Regions from separate parts of the Homo sapiens genome. Here region 1 is linked to region 2. Evidence: promoter capture Hi-C in human tissues and cell types (Jung and others, 2019). All regions are on one chromosome and are shown on one strand. Each heading gives the region's core, a stretch centred on a gene start or on the middle of the fragment in contact. The rest is flanking DNA. Distances are from core to core; before and after follow the strand shown.

What was found. The method cuts DNA at HindIII sites, captures the fragments that hold promoters and counts their contacts. A contact is called where the count stands out against the background at its distance.
Region 1: a fragment that was not itself captured here is called in contact with the fragment with the promoter of ZNF625-ZNF20 in region 2 in 2 of the 25 tissues and cell types used here (IMR-90 fibroblasts and aorta).

What each region holds. Positions count from the first base shown.
Region 1 is chr19:11,757,958-11,761,478 of GRCh38, reverse strand. No RefSeq gene overlaps it. Among named protein-coding and RNA genes, the nearest start is that of ZNF441, 7.3 kb to the left of the region's middle. The HindIII fragment of the contact is 5,499 bases long and covers 1-3,521 here.
Region 2 is chr19:12,155,381-12,159,200 of GRCh38, reverse strand. ZNF625-ZNF20 (ZNF625-ZNF20 readthrough (NMD candidate)) reads left to right here and starts at 2,470. Exons shown (of 8, transcript NR_037802.1): 1 at 2,470-2,645. ZNF625 (zinc finger protein 625) reads left to right here and starts at 2,467. Exons shown (of 4, transcript NM_145233.4): 1 at 2,467-2,645. The coding sequence starts at 2,643. RefSeq lists enhancers at 2,441-2,550, 2,113-2,804 and a silencer at 2,781-2,950. The HindIII fragment of the contact is 11,402 bases long and covers 1-3,820 here.

The sequences.
Region 1 (3,521 bases), core at 439-2,938, 400 kb after region 2:
TCTGTTGCTTATAACAGAATAGTAGAAGCTGAGTAATTTATTTAAAAAACAATATTTCTTCCAGCCTGGCCAACATAGTGAAACCCTGTCTCTATTAAAAATACAAAAATTATCCAAGTGTGGTAGCATGTACCTGTAGTCCCAGTTACTAAGGAAGCTGAGACAGGAGAATTGCTTGAACCCAGGAGGAGGCAGAGGTTGCAGTGAGCCGAGATCGTGCCACTGCACTCCCATCTGGGCAACAAAGCAAGAGTCCATCTAAAAAGAAAAGCCAAAAAACAACAAAAAAAATTATTTATTATAGTTCTGGAACCTAGCAAGTAAGAGGGCTTCATGTGGTGAAAGCCTTCTTGGTCATGGGGGCTGTGCAGAGTTTCTAGGTGGTTGAAGGTATCACATGGAGAATGGGCTGAATGTGGTAGCTCAGGTTCCCTTCTTTTTTAATATGGCCATCAGTCCCACTCCTGAGATAACTCATTAATTCAGTAAGCCATGAATTCATGAATGGATTAATTTATTTATGAGGTCTGAACCCTTAAGATCTACTCACCTCTTAAAGGCCTCACCTTTCATTAGTGCCACATTGGCGATTATGTTTCAACAAGCATTTTGGAGGGGACAAACATTCAAACCTAGCAGTGAATGGCCGGGCGCGGTGGCTCACTCCTGTAATCCCAGCACTTTGGGAGGCTGAGGTGGGTGGATCACGAGGTCAAGAGATCGAGACCATCCTAGCCAACATGGTGAAACCCTGTCTCTACTAAAAATACAAAAATTAGCTGGGCATGGTGGTGTGCGCCTGTAATCCCAGCCACTCGGGAGGCTGAGGCAGGAGAATCGCTTGAACCCAGGAGGCGGAGGTTGCAGTGAGCCGAGATTGCGCCACTGCACTCCAGCCTGGAGACAGAGCAAGACTCTGTCTCAAAAAAAACAAAAACAAAAACAAAAACAAGCAAAAAACCTAGTAGTGAATGATCAGGTATGCTCCCTCTGCCAAGCATATCACAAAAGTTTGAACTCTCAGAGGGAACATAGGAGTTCAGCAGATACCATATTTTTTACATAGTTTAGGGACACTCATCCTCCATTATCGCTTATGTTGGTGAAGCCCCCTAACTAAATTTAGTTCCTAGATATAGTGAAAGGTTCAACTTTGTGAGCAAGCATTTGTAACAATATGCGGTCTCAGGACAGCTGATGTTAACTCTTCTGCCCATTAGGTAGGAGGACTTTGTCACATCAGGAATTACAAACATCCTGTACACATAGATATTAGGGGTGATCTAGGCAATAAATGTCACTCCTTTAACTCACCAAGGAGTGGCATTTTATAATTCGACTGTTATTTTACCAAACACGTTTAATTCTAGCATTAGAATTGCATTCTGGGAGAAAATGAGTTTAGAAAGAGGGTAAGAGTTGGATTACCGTGTCGTTGCATAAATGTTTGGACACCACAGCATCATGTGACATTTATGTAGTGAGTACAGATTCCCAGTGCTGTCAGTTTCAGCTTTCCTCCTCTGCACGTGTCGGGTGTTTCAGGACTCAGTGGCCTTTGAGGATGTGGCTTTGATCTTTTGCCTGGGAGGAGTGGGCTTTGCTGGGTCCATCATAGAAGAGTCTCTACAGAGATGTGCTACGGGAAACCATCAGGAACCTAGACTGTATAGGTAAGGGGGACATCATGTCTTTACTTAGTCAATTACGAATATTTGTTTCTTCGTCACCAATGCTGTTCAAAGATTTAGAATATAAAAGAAATACGTTTGACCCTTGAACAATGCAGGGATTAGGGGCACCAGCCCTCAATGCAGTCACAAATCTTCAAATAACTTTTTTCTCCCCCGCAACTTGACTACTAATAGCCTACTGTTGACCAGAAACCTTACTGGTAAGATATACATTCAATTAACACATATTTTATATGTCATATGCATTACATATTGTTTTCTCACAATAAACTAAGGCAGAGAAAAATGTTAATCAGAAAATCACAAGGAGAAAAAACTATATTTACTATTTCATTAAGTAGAAGTGGAGCATCATAAATGTTATCATCCTTATTGTCTTCACATTGAGTAGGCTGAATAAGAGGAGGGGTTGGTCTTGCTGTCTCAGTAGTAGCAGAAACTGAAGAAAATTTGTATGTAAGGAGATCTATGCAGTTCAAACCTGTGTTGTTGAAGAGTCAACTGTGGTTTGGTGAATAAATCATCCATAACTGCAGTCTACATAAAATCTTACATTTTTAATATAATTTTATTTTTATTTATTATTATTTTTTTTTTGAGATGGAGTCTTGCTCTGTCACCCAGGCTGGAGTGTAGTGGCACGATCTTGGCTCACTGCAGCTTCTGCCTCCTGGGTTCAACTGATTCTCCTGCCTCAGCCTCCCGAGTAGCTGGGACTACAGGCGCACGCCGCCATGCCCGGCTAATATTTTTTTGTATTTTTTAGTAGAGACGGGGTTTCACTGTGTTGCCCAAGCTTGTCTCGAACTCCTGAGCTCAGACGATCCACCCACCTCGGCCTCCCAAAGTGCTAGGATTACATGCGTGAACCACCGCCCCCGGCCTCAATGTAATTTTATAATAATATATAGTGATTCTTCTGGGTCTACATTTTAGGAATGAAATGGGAAGACCAAAACATTAAAGATTAGTACAAAATTCCCAGAAGAAATCTAAGGTAATTTGCCCTAGGAAGAGAAAGATATGTCTTTGGAATAATTCTTAAAGTGACAGGAAATTTTTCACACCTATAATTCCAGCACTTTGAAAGGGTGGGGGGGTGGGGCGCAGTTCAGGAGGTCGGGAATTCGAGACCAGTCTGGCCAACATAGTGAAACCCTGTCTCTACTAAAGATACAAAAAATTAGCCAGGCGTGGTGGTGTGAACCTGTAGTCCCAGCTACTTAGGAGGCTGAGGCAGGAGAATCGCATGTACCCGGGAGGAGGACGTTGCAGTCAGTCGAGATCATGCCATTGCACTCCAGCTCAGGCGAAAGTGCAAGACTCCGTCTAAAAAAAAAGACAGGAAAATTTTAAAACAAGCAAAATAAATAAATAAATAAATAAATAAAAAAGAATAATCCTGGCTTAAATTTATTCACTCTTAGAAAATTTTCTTCAAAAACATACTTAAATGGGACATAGCTGTTAAGTGTGTCTGCAAAATAATTTCCTTGGAAAACAGTACTAAGAATTCCCACGTGAATATTACTGTTCCGATGATAGCCACAGTTGAGTTATCTTGCACAGCATTCAGTCCGTTCATGTTCAAACAGGGCATGACACCTAAGCTTTGCATGATAATGTCAACAATGTAAATTTAAGACCTATTAATATATATAAAAAACACTTATAAACAAACCTGTAGTAATTGTACTTCTCTGTTTTTACAGATATCATATGGTAGACTGATTCTGTAAAAGTAAAGGAGGTAGATAATTTGGAGAAACTTTCAGCCACATTCCAGGTGGTATTGTGAACAACAAAAATCTCCCTTGAGGCCGGGCT
Region 2 (3,820 bases), core at 1,221-3,720:
ACTTTATCTCTCAGTCTACTCATTTTCACTCAAGAAAACAACAAGCCAACAACAGAATAAAACTAAGTGCATGGAAAAGCTGGAATTATATGGCAGCTATATATATACACATATATATACATATATGTGTATATATATACTTATATATGTGTTTGTATATATACACATATATGTGTATATATACAAACACATATATAAGTGTGTGTGTGTATATATATATATATATATATATATATATATATATATATATGTTTTTTTTTTTTTGAAACGGAGTCTCGCTCTGTCGCCCAGCTGGAGTTCAGTGGCACAATCTCAGTTCACTGCAACCTCCATCTCCCGGGTTCAAGCGATTCTCCTGCCTCGGCCTCCTGAGTAGCTGGGATTACAGGCGTGTGCCACCACGCCCGGCTAATTTTTGTATTTTTAGTAGAGACGGGGTTTCACCATGTTGGTCAGGCTGGTCTCGAACTCCTGACTTCGTGATCCGCCCGCCTCGGCCTCCCAAAGTGCTGGGATTACAGGCGTGAGCCACCGCGCCCAGCCGGCAGCAATATTTTATAAAGGAATCAAAAGAAAAGTAAAGCAAACATTTGAAGTAGTTCAGATAAGCAGCCTGCTTCATGCACAGTTCACAAGGAAAACCCTCTGTCAGAAGGTAAATGATATTTCCAAGCTTGGAAGCCAAACTGTGACTGCTGAAATGGAGCCCCCCAGGGCGGGTCAGTCCCAGATGATGAGGCAGAGAAAATTAAGGATTTATCTGGGAGTTTGAAATGCCCTTCTGTCCCCTCCTCAGTTTAGAAATTATTCTCTCCTTTAAGACCTTCATTTTCACCAACAGGAAGCTCTCGACTTGAGTCAGTTTAAGCTAAATTTACTGTTAAATTCATAAACCCGCAGGGCGCGGTGGCTCACGCCTGTAATCCCAGCACTTTGGGAAGCCGAGGCGGACGGATCACGAGGTCAGGAGATCGAGACAATCCTGGCTAACACGGTGAAACCCCGTCTCTACTAAAAATACAAAAAATTAGCCGGGCGTGGTGGCAGGCGCCTGTAGTCCCAGCTACTTGGGAGGTTGAGGCAGGAGAATGGCATGAACCCGGGCGGGAGGCGGAGCTTGCAGTGAGCCGAGATTGCGCCACTGCACTCCAGCCCGGACGACAGAGCGAGACTCCGTCTCAAAAAAAATGATAATAAATACAATAAAATAAAATAATAAATAAAAATTCATAAACCCTTTCTCCAGGAGGCATCCCAAATGGGTCTTGCTCTAATTCTGACCTTCACAGATTTTCTTTTTCTTTTTCTTTCTTTTTTTTTTTTGAGACAGTCTAGCCCTGTCGCCCAGGCTGGAGTGCAGTGGCGCAATCTCGGCTCACTGCAAGCTCCGCCTCCCGGGTTCACGCCATTCTCCTGCCTCAGCCTCCCGAGTAGCTGGGACTATAGGCGCCCGCCACCGCACCCGACTAATTTTTTGTATTTTTAGTAGAGACGGGGCTTCTCCGTGTTAGCCAGGATGGTCTTGATTTCCTGACCTCGTGATCCGCCCGCGTCGGCCTCCCAAAGTGCTGGGATTATAGGCGTGAGCCACCGCTCCCGGCCGTAAAGATTTTTAAATAATAAAAACAGGGGTCTAGGGTGGGGGGATGTGGGAGGGATAACATTAGGAGATATACCTAATGTAAATGACGAGTTAATGGGTACAGCACACCAACATGGCGCATGTATACATATGTAACAAACCTGCACATTGTGCGCATGTACCCTAGAACTTAAAGTTTAATAAATAAAAATTAAAAAAAAAAAACAACAAAACAGGGGTATTCTTGTGTTGACCAAGTTGGTCTTTAACTCTTTACTTTAAGGGATCCTCCAGTCTTGGCCTCCCAAAGTGCTAGGATTACAGGCGTGAACCACCGCACCCTGCCTGTGTTCAGGTCACAATCTCTTCTAGCTTGGATAAAGGGAAAGAAATAAAGGGGGAGAGGGCATGGTTTCATCAATGGAGATTCTCTGCAGATGCAAATTCCCCCCCTCCAAAGACAGCTTTGCCAGTCCACTTTTTTTTGCGGCCGAGCCACAGCCATTTCAAAATCTGTCAAATAAATATATTTTGGCGTAAAATATTTTAATTTCCTTCACCTCCACTGGACTCTGAGTCTGGAATTTCCTGTGCAAGACAAAGGAGCAGGGACAGCCCATTGAGTGAGGAAGACAACGGTACCCCCTCTAGCAATTCGGAGCAAATTTGGCTGAAATGCAAATACCCAAAGAGCAAGACGCAGGGAGGGAGCTCGCTTAGATAATCTGTGGTTGGAACAGGTCATTTCGGTTCTGCCGGGCCTTGTTACCCAGGGCTTCCGCTGTCACTCAGGACCGATGGGACGGGGACTGGAGCCTCATCCAATCAGGGGCGCTGGGGCGGGGTCCTGCCAACTGTCCATCCGGGGAAGGGGAGGCCGCATTCCCGCTTTCCTGACTCCCAGGCGTCTTGCACCAAAGGGAGGTCGGGATCTCGGTTTTCCGGCCCCGAGAGGGACCAGGTGCCTCCGCCATAGCTTCTGTCGCTCCATCGCCCGCACTGTGACTGGACTGTTAGAGGGATCCGTGGAGAGGAGGCCAGGACACCTGGAAGCCGGGAAATGGTGAGTGTGCGGGGCCGGGGGTCCCGAGACGGGGGAGGGGCCGGGAGGAACCGGCTCGAACCGGCTCTAGCAGGACCCAGGCCTTCCTGCAGCGACTTCGGGTCTGCAGAGCGGAGTCCCCCTGGCGTAGCTCGGCCCTCGGTCCCTTCGGCCGCAGGGTGGGGTTGGGCCGGCAGCCGGGACCCCAGGCGTCCTGTCCCGTCTCTGCGCTGCGACTGCGACCCCGGCCCTGGCCCCGGCCCCGGAGCCCTCTCTGGGGAGCTCCGCGCCCGTAGTCCCGCGTCTCCCCAGATTGTGCGGAGACCACGGGAGGGTCATGGAGGCAATCCTGCCTCGGGTGTGTGGTTCGTGTGGGAGGAGCGGTGGGCTGCGGGGTCCCCAGTCCCCCCTTTTTTCCTGAAAAACTAAATTGAAGGCCAGGCGCAGTGGGTCACGCCTGGCAGGTTGAGGCGGGGGGATTGCTTCAGCCCAGAAATTCGAGACCAGCCTAGGCAACATACCGAGACCCTAGTTTCTATTAAAAATAAATTTTTAAAAAATGAGCCGGGCGTGGTGCCGCCCACCTGTAATCCCAGCTACTGGGGGGCTGAGGTGGGAGGATCGCTTGAGGGAGGAGATTGGGACTGCAGTGAGCCGAGATCGCGCCACTGCACTCCAGCCTGGGCGACTGAGCGAGACCCTGTCTCAAACAAAACAAAACAAAAACAACAGCAACAAACTAAACTGAGTCCTCTTAAAAATTAAAGAGTTTTGCTTCTCAGAATAGGAGTTTGAAAAAAATGAATGAGAAATGTTTCCTGAATGAGAAACACCCAGTCATGGCTTGCAGTTTGATAACGGAAAGAGCAAAACTCTGCAAAATAACTTGAACTATGTTCTACGCCGAATATGAGAGAACGTGACCAAGGGAAACAACCGCATGTAGCCTCGAGTAAGTGGTCCCCAGGAGGTTCGATGGCAGTTTGGTTTTATTCATTTCAGCGAGACAGGAATTGCAGGGAAAAGATCAATCAAGGCATGGAAGGCTGACAGGGCAGGACACGTAGAAGCGGGGCTTAGAAGGCACAGGTGGTTGAGGGATTCTGTAGTTGGCAGTTGGCTGAGAGTGTGAAGTTGTGTCTAAAATTTGAAAGGGGTAGGAAGGAATGTTTAAGTGAAGGGAGTCTGTTACCTGC